Linked DNA regions of Homo sapiens: regions 2, 3 and 4 are each linked to region 1. The links are contacts of gene promoters, found by promoter capture Hi-C in blood cells and fetal thymus (Javierre and others, 2016). All regions are on one chromosome and are shown on one strand. The core of a region is centred on a gene start or on the middle of the fragment in contact, and the rest is flanking DNA. Distances in the headings are between cores, read along the strand shown.

The links. Contacts are between HindIII fragments. The CHiCAGO score rates a contact against its expected background, and 5 or more counts as called.
Region 2: a contact is called between a fragment that was not itself captured here and the fragment with the promoter of MOB3B in region 1, in 1 of 17 cell types (M2 macrophages). The highest score is 5.6, in M2 macrophages.
Region 3: a fragment that was not itself captured here is called in contact with the fragment with the promoter of MOB3B in region 1 in 4 of 17 cell types (M0 macrophages, M1 macrophages, naive B cells and 1 more); the score reaches 6.4 in M0 macrophages.
Region 4: a fragment that was not itself captured here is called in contact with the fragment with the promoter of MOB3B in region 1 in 1 of 17 cell types (neutrophils); the score reaches 5.3 in neutrophils.

The regions. Positions count from the first base shown.
Region 1 is chr9:27,527,768-27,531,223 of GRCh38, reverse strand. MOB3B (MOB kinase activator 3B) reads left to right here and starts at 1,410. Exons shown (of 4, transcript NM_024761.5): 1 at 1,410-1,669. It overlaps LOC124902107 (dapper homolog 3-like), which reads right to left and starts at 2,768. Exons shown (of 2, transcript XM_047424279.1): 1 at 2,498-2,768; 2 at 524-2,204. The coding sequence starts at 2,768. The coding sequence ends at 1,216. RefSeq lists silencers at 1,363-1,662, 2,633-2,682. The HindIII fragment of the contact is 3,596 bases long and covers 79-3,456 here.
Region 2 is chr9:27,267,967-27,271,116 of GRCh38, reverse strand. It overlaps the pseudogene REXO6P. Among named protein-coding and RNA genes, the nearest start is that of EQTN, 28 kb to the left of the region's middle. The HindIII fragment of the contact is 4,471 bases long and covers 1-3,150 here.
Region 3 is chr9:27,031,641-27,034,675 of GRCh38, reverse strand. The region is part of intron 13 of IFT74 (intraflagellar transport 74); the gene reads right to left. Among named protein-coding and RNA genes, the nearest start is that of LRRC19, 27 kb to the right of the region's middle. The HindIII fragment of the contact is 6,282 bases long and covers 1-3,035 here.
Region 4 is chr9:27,890,684-27,893,893 of GRCh38, reverse strand. No RefSeq gene overlaps it. Among named protein-coding and RNA genes, the nearest start is that of C9orf72, 320 kb to the right of the region's middle. The HindIII fragment of the contact is 1,763 bases long and covers 401-2,163 here.

The DNA.
Region 1 (3,456 bases), core at 161-2,660:
TCTGTTCCAAACTACCTGAAAATATTCTCTTTCTGTTCCTACTTTCCAGGAGATAACATCTTAAGGGACACTGAAGCTTGTGCGTGTGTGAGTAGAACACGTGCTGGGGGCTCTTGAGCTCATGAGGGAGGGGCTACATGTCGGTGGGGTGATAACTGTATGCTGGAAACAATGATAGGTGGTGACCCTGGAGCACTTACCATGTGACAGGTGTTATGCTAAGCATGTTGTATGCATTCCTTCATTGAATGACAGCTACCTATATTATCCTCATTTTATAAGATGAGGTAACAGAGCTTCAGAAAGGTTAGACTCAGCTGCTATGGGTCTGTCTGACTCTGGTGTTCTTCCTCTTAAAAACTGGGGCACTTTGGAAATGAGATTCCTCGGTGATGAACAGAAATATTGCTTAGCGGCTGTATTTTTGTATCTGGCAGTTTTCCCATATTTGAGTCTTATATTCACAATCGGTATCTTTACATTACACAAAAGTGACACAGAATTAGAGTCATTTAATCCAGGGTTGATATCATTAAGTCATGACTATTTATTAAATGTTTCTTACAATATCTGAGATGATATTGCAAAAGATGTAAGTGATTTTAGAAGTTCTCACTTCGTAGTTAGTTGCAGAAACCTCTTTTGGAGGAGGGATGTTTTCTCTATATATCCTAATTTCTACTTAATATATTTCCACACCTCTTTGAAGTGTGTAGTAAGAATGGTAAAATGCAGTACTTCGTCATTTGGTACAGTTCAATCAATATGCATTAAGATGTGATCATATGGGTAATAGAAAAATGTGAAAGATCCAATTCTTTTTCTCCAGAAGGCAGGAAGCTCATATTTGATTTCTGTTACTATAAACTATAAAAACGTTTCAAATGTAGTTTACCCGTAACCATCACCCTGCAAGGGTGATATTGCTCCCCGCCAATTTACGGAGGAGAATACTGAGGCTTTAAGGTTGTAGATAGACCAAGACCACACAAGTAGAGAGTGGCGGGCTGTGGGTTGAGCTTTAAAATCCAGGTTCATCCATGACTCCCAGTGTGTTCTAGTAAATCCACTAGAATCTGAGTATTTTCCAATGATTTATGCTCCGCTCTGTGTCAGGCAGTTCATGGTATTTTTCAACAATCAGAAAATCCTGGGGAAGGCAAACTGTTTCCCCCTCTCTAGGTGCCTTGGAAGTGGCCGTTGTGGACCCAGAGATCATCCTTTCTGATCTGACACCTTCTTCACTGCCCTGGCCCAGTGTCTTTTCTGCAAGGCTGGAAGCCCCCTTAGACTGGTCATGTCCCATCTCTTTCCGGAGGGAAGATGATCCCAAAGACGACTTTTCTCTCCACGGTGCTGCCATACCGCAGGCGGCCGCCAGGGGTCCCCGCTCGGCGTCCCCGCGAGACAGTCGAGCCCCGGCCGGCTGCGCGGCGCGCTGGGTGCATGAGGGGGCTGCTCCGGAGCGACGGCGGCTGCAGCTGGAGCCAGGCGCTCGCCCGTCCGCCGGTTGGCTCGCCGGGACCTCGCGCACCGGCGGCAGAGTCCCTTGCGTGGATTGGCAAGCGACGCCCCACCTGCCCCGAGCTCACCATTTTCTTTCGCGCTGGCTGCAGCTGACCCGGCGAAGGGAGCCGACCGGGCCCTGGGCTGGAGGTAAAACCCCACGGTGAGTAAGAACCCGCTCCAAGCTAGGGGAGGCGGCGCAGCCCGGTGGCTGCTCGCTCCCGATCTCGCCCGGGCGGGCGGCGAGGTTTGGGGCGCACCTGGGCGCGGGTGCAAGAAGGTGCGGGAGGCGGCGGACCGGTCTTCTGCCCGCCGGCCACGGGCTTCCGGGGCTGGAGTCCTCTTCAGACCCCTGCCGGCGCCTGGGTTTCTGGCCGGCTCCTCGTGTGCACTTCCCGGCAGGAACAAGGGTCGCCCACTTTCCACCCCGGGATCTTGATTTGTCCTTGATTTGAAAAGATATAAATCAATAAGATCGTCCTTCTTTCGGGGTGCAAGACTCCGAGCCCATCCCCAGCCGCGGACGCCTGCAGGGTGCGTGTTGGGCTGTGGGTGGCGGGAAGACAAACTTTTACAAAAGTGCGCCTGGGCTGGGGGACAACGCTTGGGCGTCCTGATCCTGAGGGAGGAGTCTCGGCTTGGGGCAGCGTAGGGGAAGTCCGCACCGTCAGCCAGGTCGCCCCCGGGGCTGACGATGCCTCACGGAGGTGGGGAGCGTGTAAAGGCCGTACAAATCGCGCTTAACTTTGGGGCCAACAACTGTCAAACATCTGGAATCCCAGCCCCTCCCTTTCCCTGAACTGGGGAAGAAGGTGAAAACCCTTCAAGTTTTCTTTGATTGCCCCTTCCCACCTTCAGACCCCTGCTGGGAGGGTAAAGCGCCGACCCCTGGTGCCTGGCAAGTACCAGAGACTCTAAATCTCTCGGGATCCCCCCCCTCGCGCTCTTTCCTGACCCTCTCCCCTAACCCTCCCCACAGAGATCTCTCTACGCAGCCGACTGAGATCGTGGCGAATGGCCTTTTGTTTCTCCGCGTTTCCCCTATTGTTTGCCTTTCCAACATCTGGCGGGGCTTGGGGAGAGAAGGAAGCCCCTCTGGTCCCCCTCCCCGGCCCCCACGCCAGCTCCGGCAGGGGATCCCAGCTGGGAAAGTGGAGGAGCCCGACCCCAGCGAGGCCGCCCCACCCCGCCCTTGTGGTTAGAGGGCGGAGGGAAAGTTGTTCCTTCCCCGCCTCCGCTGCTGCCTGTGGCCCAGGGCGCATTTCTCAGATCTCAGCCCAGGCGCGCCGCAAAGGCTCAAATCCGAGAAGGTGCTGCTTTCGAGACAGTGGAAGCGCGTTCCGCCCCAATCCAGAGCGTCCAGTGGTTGGTTCCAGAGGATTTCAATCTCTAGCCAAAGGCGTTGGGGCTGGGCCGCTGCTAGGGCAGTGGGAGGGGATCGGGGCACCTTTGGTAGGCGGAAAGCTGAGATTCTGGGGTCCACAAGTTTCCAAGGGCGGGAGGGCAGGCTAGTCGCCAAAAAGAGAACGAAGATGCAAATAACGAGGAAGCCTTATGACGTTGCCTGGAAATAGTAGTGTGGTGGTTCACTCCGGAATGAACGTGGAGTTCTGGCTTTGAGTACCGCTCCAAGTTTAAATCCCAAGTCCCCTTTCTTCATTGTAGAAAAAGAGGACTCAGACGACGCAACACAGATACGGCTAGAGCACAGTTCCTGCTTCCACGTCCCAGAGAACAAGTGGCTTAGGATGGTCCCGAGTTCCCCTGTGGGTGCGCTTGTTGGGTTGCAGGCGGCCCTGTTTCCCTGCACAAGTCAGATGCTTACACATTGTGTTCATTCTTAGTGTGGATTATTGATTAAAGAACTGGGGCAAAAGCAAAGTAGCTACTCTGAGAAGTCAGGGTCCCCAGATGGTGCCCAGCGAGTTGTCTTGCCTCTGAGGGGAGGCT
Region 2 (3,150 bases), core at 538-3,037, 260 kb after region 1:
TCACAATGTTATGAAACTATCACTACTATCCATTTCCAGAGCTTTTTTATCATTTCAAACAGAAATTCTGTACTCATTAAATAACTCCCCATTCCTCTCTCCTTTCAGTCTCTGGTAATCTCTATTCTACTTTATGTTTCCATGAATTTTCTTTTCTTTTCTTTTTTTTTTTTCTTTTTTTGACAGAGTCTCACTTTGTCACCAGGCTGGAGTGCAGTGGCGCAATCTCCACTCACTGCAACCTCTGCCTTCCAGCTTCAAGCGATTCTCCTGCCTCAGCCTCCCAAGTAGCTGGGATTACAGGTGCATGCCACCATGCCCAGCCATGTTTCTATGAATTTTCTTATTCTATTTATCTCATGTAATTGAAATGATATACTGTTTGTCCTTGTATGTCTGACTTCTTTCATTTAGCATAATGTTTTAAAGGTTTATTCATGTTGTAGCATGTATTCAAATTTTATTTATTTTTACAACTGAATAACACTTTACGGTATGTATAACCATACTTTTGTTATCCATTTTGTTCACTCAATAATGGATGGAGATTGTAGTTTTCTTTGCAGTAATGATTCTGTCTCTTTTTTGGTCTCAGGGTTATATTGACCTCATAGAATAAATTGGAAAGTGTTCCCTCCTCTTTTATTTTTTGGTTTATAAGACAGCCTTAGCTTTCACTTCCTGCTTGTGCAGGGCCTCAAGGTTGGCCACTGGTGAATGAATAGGATTTTCTCTTTTCCCAGGTCTTAAATGGAACACTTGTTAAACCCAGGATTATGTCAGAGCCTTTACAAATCTCTAGGGTCATCTAGTTCTCCAAGAGTTTCTTTTAAATTCCTAGCCAAACTATTGTTTGCCAGACTAAAACCATAGCCCTAGCTAGCTGTGATATTGCCAGGATATTGCTATTGTTTCAGTTGCACCCTGGAGATAGGGTTTTTTCCCTCCATACTCTGAACTCTGAGTCAAATCAAATACCCACAACACCCTAGGAATAGAGATTTTTCAGGGAACTGGTTTTTTGTTTGAATATTGATAGTGCTCTAGCAATAATGCTTTTAGTATGGTTCTAAAAAAGATATGTCTACTCTGTTGGCTCTCAGGGCCAACCTTTCACAACCGTGGCGCCACTAAGCTGGGAAGGGAAGGGAGGTAGGAATTTCACAGAACCCACTGTGTTACCAAGGTTCAGTAGTTTCTCTTAGACAATTTTCAGTTTGTTCTGTGGCTTTAGTTATTAGAATTTTGAAATGGTTGATTTTTAGTTGTTTTGCCAATATTTTTATTGCTTTTGTGGGACAGTAAGTTCATGAAGGTTCTCGCTCTACTATTCCAGAAGTCTGTGTCCTCTAGGATTCTATGTAGGTTAAAGAATAATGGCAAAAATAAAAAGGGACAATATGAGCCTCTTATGTGTTGTTCATTTTCTTCCAGCTTTGTCTTTTTTCATCATGTGTCTTTTCTTCCTTACTCCCTCTAACCTCCCATGGCTTTATCTCTGATGATTTAGTGTAATGAGAAGAGTCTTGGTGGCATTTGGGTACACCTAGGTTCAATTACCAGCTCTGTAACAATAAGCAAGATGTTTCCTTTGTTCAAGCCTAGTTTCATCATATAAATCAGTGATGACACCCATTCTCATACAGTCATAATGAAGATTAAATGAGAAAACATTTAATATGCTTAAAACAAACCTGCATATACTAGGTATATAAATTAATAATATATTTAATATTTATTATCATAACACTCCATTTGCTTGTTTCTTTCATATTTCATTCCTTTTCCTTTTACTGACTTAATGACCCTTGGTATAAAAATAATTATGTAATGGTTTCAGGAAGGTAAATTTTATAGAAGAAAAAATGAAGATCATGTCCTCCATTTGCTGTGTAATCCTAAGCAAATTAACCACTTTGAGCCTTAGTTTCTTTTAAATGGAAATAGTAATATATGCCTCTGGTATATTTGGGGCTGGCTGTGAGAATCAAATGAATTGATGTATATTCTCAGCTTTGTATAGGTATTGCACTATATACCGTATACCAATATACAGTAGCCTTTTGTCTATGAAGCAAGAGTATCTGGTTCTTGGGTTGGAGTCATAGAACTGTTTTTTTTCTTCTTTTTTTGAGACAGAATCTCTCTCTATCCTCCAGGCTGGAGTGCAGTGGTGTGATCTCGACTCAATGCAACCTCCACGTCCCAGGTTCAGGCGATTCTCCTGCCTCAGCCTGCGGAGTAGCTGGGATTACAGGCACCTGCCACCACGCCGGGCTAATTTTTGTATTTTTAGTAGAGATGTGTTTTCACCATGTTGGCCAGGCTAGTCTCAAACTCCTGGCCTCAAGTGGTCCACCCACCTCGGCCTCCCAAAGTGCTAGGATTACAGACGTGAGCCACCATGCCCGGACTATTTTTTTTTTTTCTTCTTAAAAAACAAACACAAAATGGAAAATAAGTTGCTTTTCATTGGTGGCACAGTTTTCCCCCATTCATTAAGTTACATAAATATTTTGCCATATTCATTATATTGCAAATGACATTTCCTGTTCATAGGCTTTTGGCTTAATATTTAATTATTCAATTTTTGACCTAGGCTAAAATAGAAAAAAAGGCAATATATGAAAGGTGTAGCAGGAGAAATATGTATGTGAACATAGCAGTAAATTATCTTAAGAAGCTAAGAGATCAAGGTAATTTATTTTTTTCAATTAATCAAGTGATAAAACCTGTAATTAGTACCTGACCCTGAATACTTTTTCTCATTAGTAGGGCCATCTTTAGCTTATACCAAGGAATTTATTTTTTAAATAGTCTCTTTAGTGGAATGTGTAGGTGGTACTTGTGGTTGAAAATCAGCTGCATTTGAAATTGGATGTATAACTATAACCTTATTGTCAGAGGTTATCACTGAAATATTTAAACTTGTTTTCTGGTTATGAAAGTAACTCACTTCTATGCGGAATAGCATTTCTCAACCTTGTTTTCGTTATCGTCCCCCTAAGAAATCTTTGCAGACATTATTTTTTCTATCACCTCCCTCTTCCCCCTTCATAAAATTAAGTGCCGCTTTAGGAGATACACCTAATGCTAAATGACGAGTTAATGGGTGCAGCACACCAGCATGGCACGTGTATACATATGTAA
Region 3 (3,035 bases), core at 196-2,695, 500 kb after region 1:
ATGCCTGTAATCCCAGCTACTTGGGAGGCTGAGGTAGGAGAATTGTTTGAACCTGAGAGGTGGAGGTTGCGGTAAGTCAAGATCACACCATTTTACTCCAGCCTGGGCCACAAGAGAAAAACTCCGTCTCAAAATACATAAATAAATAAACAAATAAATAATAAATAAAAGTATTCTGTCTTTAACATTGTTTATTTTACCCTCCATAATTAAAGAAACAATGGTCCTAACCAAGGCTTTAGAACTCTGAGTATGAAAAAGTATACTATAGACAAACCAAAGTATTATATTTTGTTATTTTACTACTTTGAATGACACATATATATTATGCAGAAAGTTACAATGAATTCATTCAGAATTTAAGACAGTAATTCAATATTCCTATAGCACTTTGCATATATTTCTATTATGACATATTTACCACATTGTAGCAACTAGTTATTTATATGTATTATGGTATTTTAATAATCATATATTTGGTTTTACAATCAACTCCACATTTGGGAAAATACTTGAATCTGGAAAGTAATCATTTTTGGTGAGTAATAATGCCCAATAATCCCTCCTGGAGAGACATATGACAGTGACCGTACAACATTTGTTAACTCTATTTGTCAATCCTACTGTGTATATATTAATAGATGCTCAGAAAATTAGCCCCATCTTGTGGATCGCGGTGGTACTACAAATTCAGGCCTAACAGTCAAAACTTCGGAACTGTCAGTGATGTGTACCTTATCTTGACTGACAAAAACTAAAAAACTTATGGCTAGCATTGGTAAGGAACCACCTTCACATACTGCTTTTGGTTGTATAACATAATACAACCTTTTCTGGGAAGAAATTTGCAAACCAGTTGTAAATATAAATAATATTCCATTCAAAATTTCACTTCTAGAAATTTATTCTGTGGAAATAAACAGACAAGTTATAAACATGAATGTACTAGTGCAGCACTGTTCTTGGGAGTAAAAAATTAGAAACAGCCTAAATATCAATGTGGATACAATGAATCCTATGTAACAACAATCATAGGGGTAGCTAATGGTTGTCAGAAGCGCTTAATGTGCACCAGGCACCATTTTTTTTTTTTTTTTTTTTTGAGACAGGGTCTCACTTTGTTATCCAGGCTGAAGTGCAGTGGCATGATTTTGGTTGGAGTGATTTCGGCTTACTGCAGCCTCGACTTCCGAGGTTCAAGTAATCATCCTACCTTAGCAAATAGCTGGGACTACAAGTCAAACACACATCACCATGCCTGGCTAATTTTTGTATTTTTTTGTAGAGACAGGTTTTCGCCCTGTTGCCCAGGCTGGTCTCGAACTTCTGAGCTCAAGCAATCCACCCCCCTCAGCCTCCCAAAGTGCTAGGATTATAGGCATGAGCCACCACACCTGTACCAGGCACCATTCTTAAGTCTGACTTTAGAGCCCTAACATTGACCACTATGCTATACCATTTCTCAGAATGAAGTATACATCCTCATAGGGAAGAATGTATATTATACAGTTAAATGAAAAGACTCAAGCTCAGAAGAACTGTATATTAGTATTACTCCATTTAAAAATATGTTTATCAATGTATTAAAAGTCTAAAAGCCTAAACATTAAACTGTAAACCATGATTACCTCTGAAGACTTGGATGAGGAGAAAGGAGATGACATTTTACTTTATATACTTTTCTGCTTGCATTTTTCATGTTAAATACATGCCAGATTCATATTTAAAATTACAATTTTAAAAAATTAATCTGAATCTTTAAAATAATTTTAAGTAGTTTAAAAGACTTTTTTTTTTCTTTTTTTTCTTGAGATGGAGTCTTGCTCTGTCGCCCAAGGCTGGAGTGCAGTGGCGCGATCTTGGCTTACTGCAACCTCTGCCTCCCGAGTTCAAGCGATTCTCCTACTTCAGCCTCCTGAGTAGCTGGGATTACAGGTACACACCACCATGCCTAGCTAATTTTTGTATTTTTAATAGAGATGGGGTTTCACCATGTTGGTCAGGCTGGTCTCGAACTCCTGACCTCATGATCCGCCTGCCTCAGCCTCCCAAAGTGCTGGGATTACAGGCGTGAGCCACTGCACCCGGCCAGGACACTTTTTTTTTAAGCTGAAAAGGATGACCTCCTATAAGCTGAGGCTAATTGCCCAGTTAATGAAAGCATGAGGATGGTCATTTAAGGCAAAACACACAAAAAAAATCTTTTTAAAAATAAGTAAAATGATCTACCTTCAAGGTGCTTAAAGTTTCAGAAATTCTAGGTAATTAAGGCTTATAATTGTCATTTCCTGGTATGAATGGCACGTTGAACATGCACATCTAATTTTGATCCTCCCGCAAACCCCACTAAAACTATAGCAAAAAGAATTTTTAAAGGTAGAAACCCCCAGCATATAGAAATAGGAGACAACAGCAATAACATTTTGGAAGCTGAAAGGAGATGGAGAACTGGTAACTGACCTAGCAGACTTGAGAAAGTTGAAATCTAAGCCAGCATTGGGTGAAGCTGAGAACTACCCTGATTTCAAAAGGCTCAGTATTTTTGCATAGAAAACTGATCACTTTTTTTGTGATTTGTGTAAGGCTTTGACATGTCTTATAATAGTAATGCTGTTCTTTATAGAATTTATTCAATGTAAGGGAATACACTAGTAAAGAGTAAAACACCAGGCACAGTGGCTCACACCTGTAATCCCCACACTTTAGGAGGCCAAGGCAGAAAGACTGCTAGAGCCAAGCACGTTGAGATCAGCCTGGGCAACAGAGCAAAACCCTGTCCCTACAAAAAAAGTTTTCAACAATTAGCTGGGCATGGTGGTGTGCACCTGTAGTCCTAGCTACTCAGGAGTTTATTTTACATTTTATTTTATTTTATTTTACATTTTATTTTATTTATTTTATTTTATTTTATTTTATTTTATTTTATTTTATTTTATTTTATTTATTATTTTATTTAGCTAAGGCAAGAGGATCACTTGAGCCCAGGAGTTTGAGGCTGCAGTGAGCTATGTTGTCACACCACTGTACTCCAGCCT
Region 4 (3,210 bases), core at 33-2,532, 360 kb before region 1:
GACATGTAGTAAATCAAATATAGGAAATGGCCAAAGATAAATAAATGGCTTTAATAAGTTTCTCAGGCCCAAGTTTTGAATGGCTTTAGGTATCTTTGGAATAGAGCAGCTCAAAAGGCAGAGACCAGGACATCTGCTGGTCTTTCATACAGGTACATGTAGATAACCTAGGAAGAAAATGATAGCACTATTTCCTCTACCTCCTCCTCCTCTTCCAACCTCCACCATGAGATTGATTGTGCATTCCAGGTTATCCCTATGGCCTCCTTCACAGGGACAGCTACACCCAGGCCATCACCATTTCTTTCCCAGAAAAGGATTCCAATATTAAGGTAGATGTTATGTTTATTATTCTGCTTCCAGGTCATAAATCCATTAGATCCTGAAAACTCTTAAAGCTTGGGTCTCACTTTTCCTAATGCTATTGTGTTCTCAAGCCTTGAATAAGTGGTTGTAATAATCTATCTATACCTGTCAAAAACTGCATGAGAATTCCCTACTCTTATTGAACTGAGCAGCAAATGTCAGAGTTAACTTACAGTGCTGTTTTAGCTAGATGCCCATCAAGGACTTTACAGGATTTGCTGGCTTCCTGGGGATATAAGCACATTCAACAAATCCAGAATCAACTCAGTCAGGCCACAGAGGATCTTCAGCCCCATTATTTCCAGACATCTGACCAAAATTTAACCTCTTCCCACACTATAGCCGCATATCTGGTAAAGCAGAATTACTCTTTATTTCTTCAGGGCCTTTCCAGTGCCTGCCCCTGGATTATAAATCAAAAAGGAAAAGTGGATACACGGAGTAAATATCCCCACTCTTTCTGACTGCTGAGATGAACCAAGAGTTAAGTAGCATCTGTTGATTTTCCTGTCAGGATATCCACAAACATGTTTTTTATTATAGTAATATAATTTAATAATAGAAATTATCTAAATGAGAAGATGACCACATCATCAATCCTCTAACAAATAAGGTGCTAACATTTCCAAATTAAGTATAGCTTTATCTATAGATAAATACATTTAAGTTGTCTTGGTACCTAGAGAAACTTTAGCCATTCTGGATAAGGCATTTAGTTCAGGCCCTGAGTCCCCAAGGCCTAACCAACTCCCAACTCCCTGAGCTGACTGAGGAAAGGGTGGGGAGGAGGAAATCGTTCTGAGGAAGATCCTGGCCAGGCCCCTAAACAAAGTGAGAGCAGCAGACAAATGACCCCTCAGCAAGGGCATGGAGGATCCTGGGAAGCAGAGGAGCAGCGGGTGCTATAGGGCCAGAAACTTAATTGAGGCCATCTAAACTTGGCACACAGACTGGTCAGCGCAGACTTTTTCAGCATTTAGTCTGAAAACTTATCTTTTGCACACAAAGTGAAAAAATACATTTTTAAGAAACAGAAATTCAATCTCAATTTACTCAGTGTTCGACCTGGGCAGTAAATTATTTTCTTTAATCAAACTGATACAGAATTTTAAACCATTTTAAATGAATGAGAAACAGCCTGCTCTGAAACTATATCTGATTATTAAGAGAAGTTATTACCACAAAGGACCTGAAGATAAGTTTCAAGGTAATTCCTCATAAATAATACACAGAGCCAGGCTCTCTTGTTTTCCCCTTGGTGTCGACATTCAGATTTGAACAACTCTAGCCTTAAAAATAGCTATCTCACCATCAGCCAATTCAAACTACAGTGCTTGGGACATGGCAAATTTTCAAAAGCACATCATAGCTCCAGACTTTTGAGACTCTTTTATATGTACATACACTTCTTCTGAGGCCAAGGTAAACCGGAAACTTCAGTTGCTATGTTATTCTTTTTAATATAAATGTGCATTTGATGTTGAAAGATACATCAATTATTTTTAGAAGAACTTTGGCATTGTATTACAATGCTAACATGTATATTTAATATACCTAGCTTATAAGTAATAGAGAAATATTTCTTAGCTTAAAATGAAAACTAGGAGATGAGAGGAAGATGAAAGGTGAAAAAGGAGAAGATTGTGTCAGCATCTATCTTTAAGGAACACACTCAATCATGCTTTTGCTGAACAGCCTGCCTGGCAGTCTGTTGGAAGAGGAAGGTAAGATTCAGGTAAGAAGATCACGTAGTTGGGCTGTGGCAAGCCATCGACAGCCTCGAAATGCAGCAAAGCTTTAAACGCTCATGCTAGAAAATAAGAAAAGTAAAAATTAATGCCAACAATGAAAACTAATGAAAGTCCAAAGAATTAAGATGATCAACAAAGTCATCAACTGATTATTTGAGGAAAAAAATAATAGACAAATTTCTGAAGGAAATTGAAAAAGAGAAGATGGAAATTATGTTAGTATGGATTAAAAGGGAGGGAACTGGAGATTACATAGAGATTTAAAAGAAAATAAAATACTATGAGTAATTTGATGCCAACACATGTGAAAAACGAAACATAAGGAATTCCTAGAAAAGTATAAATTCCAAAGCTGACTCAAAAGAAATATAATATTTGATACTATAACTGCTACACTATTTTAAAATAAAAAAATGTTTCATGAAAATAAACAAGGCCACCATAGTTTTACAAAGAAGTTCTACCAAACATTCAGAAACATCTAGCGAATCTAAGGCAAAATTTGTTAACGAAGAGAAAAGAGGAAGTGTTCTCAATAATTTTAAGAGTCTACTATAACCTTTATACCAATACCAGACAAAAACATTATGAATATATATGTAAAAATATATTCTATTTTGACTGAGTCATTTCATTTTGCATCAGACTACCTCTTGTAGCCTGAAAAACTAGAAAAGTTGAATAAATTTCAGAGCATCAGAGTGATACCAATGCAGCCAGGATTTGACATTTTAAGAAAGAAAATGATTAAAATTTTCTTGTGGTTCCTGTAAACAAGATACATTTAAATATCAAGCACATATAAATATCAATTTGTGCCAAAAACAGAGAAAACAATTTTTAAAAAATAAGGGATAATTTAAGAGTAGACTTTACAAAAGATCATAACTCTGTCACTCAAACTCGAATATAAAAACATATGGGAAGATATATCATATTCTTGACCAGAAACCCTTGTCTTGTTTTTTATCAATGTCCTACTAATCAAACTATAGACTTAACTAGAATCTAATCAAAATGCTGACAGGGCCCTTCGTGGAAGTTGACAAGCCTATTATGAAATTTATATGCAACAGTAAAGGATCAAGAATTA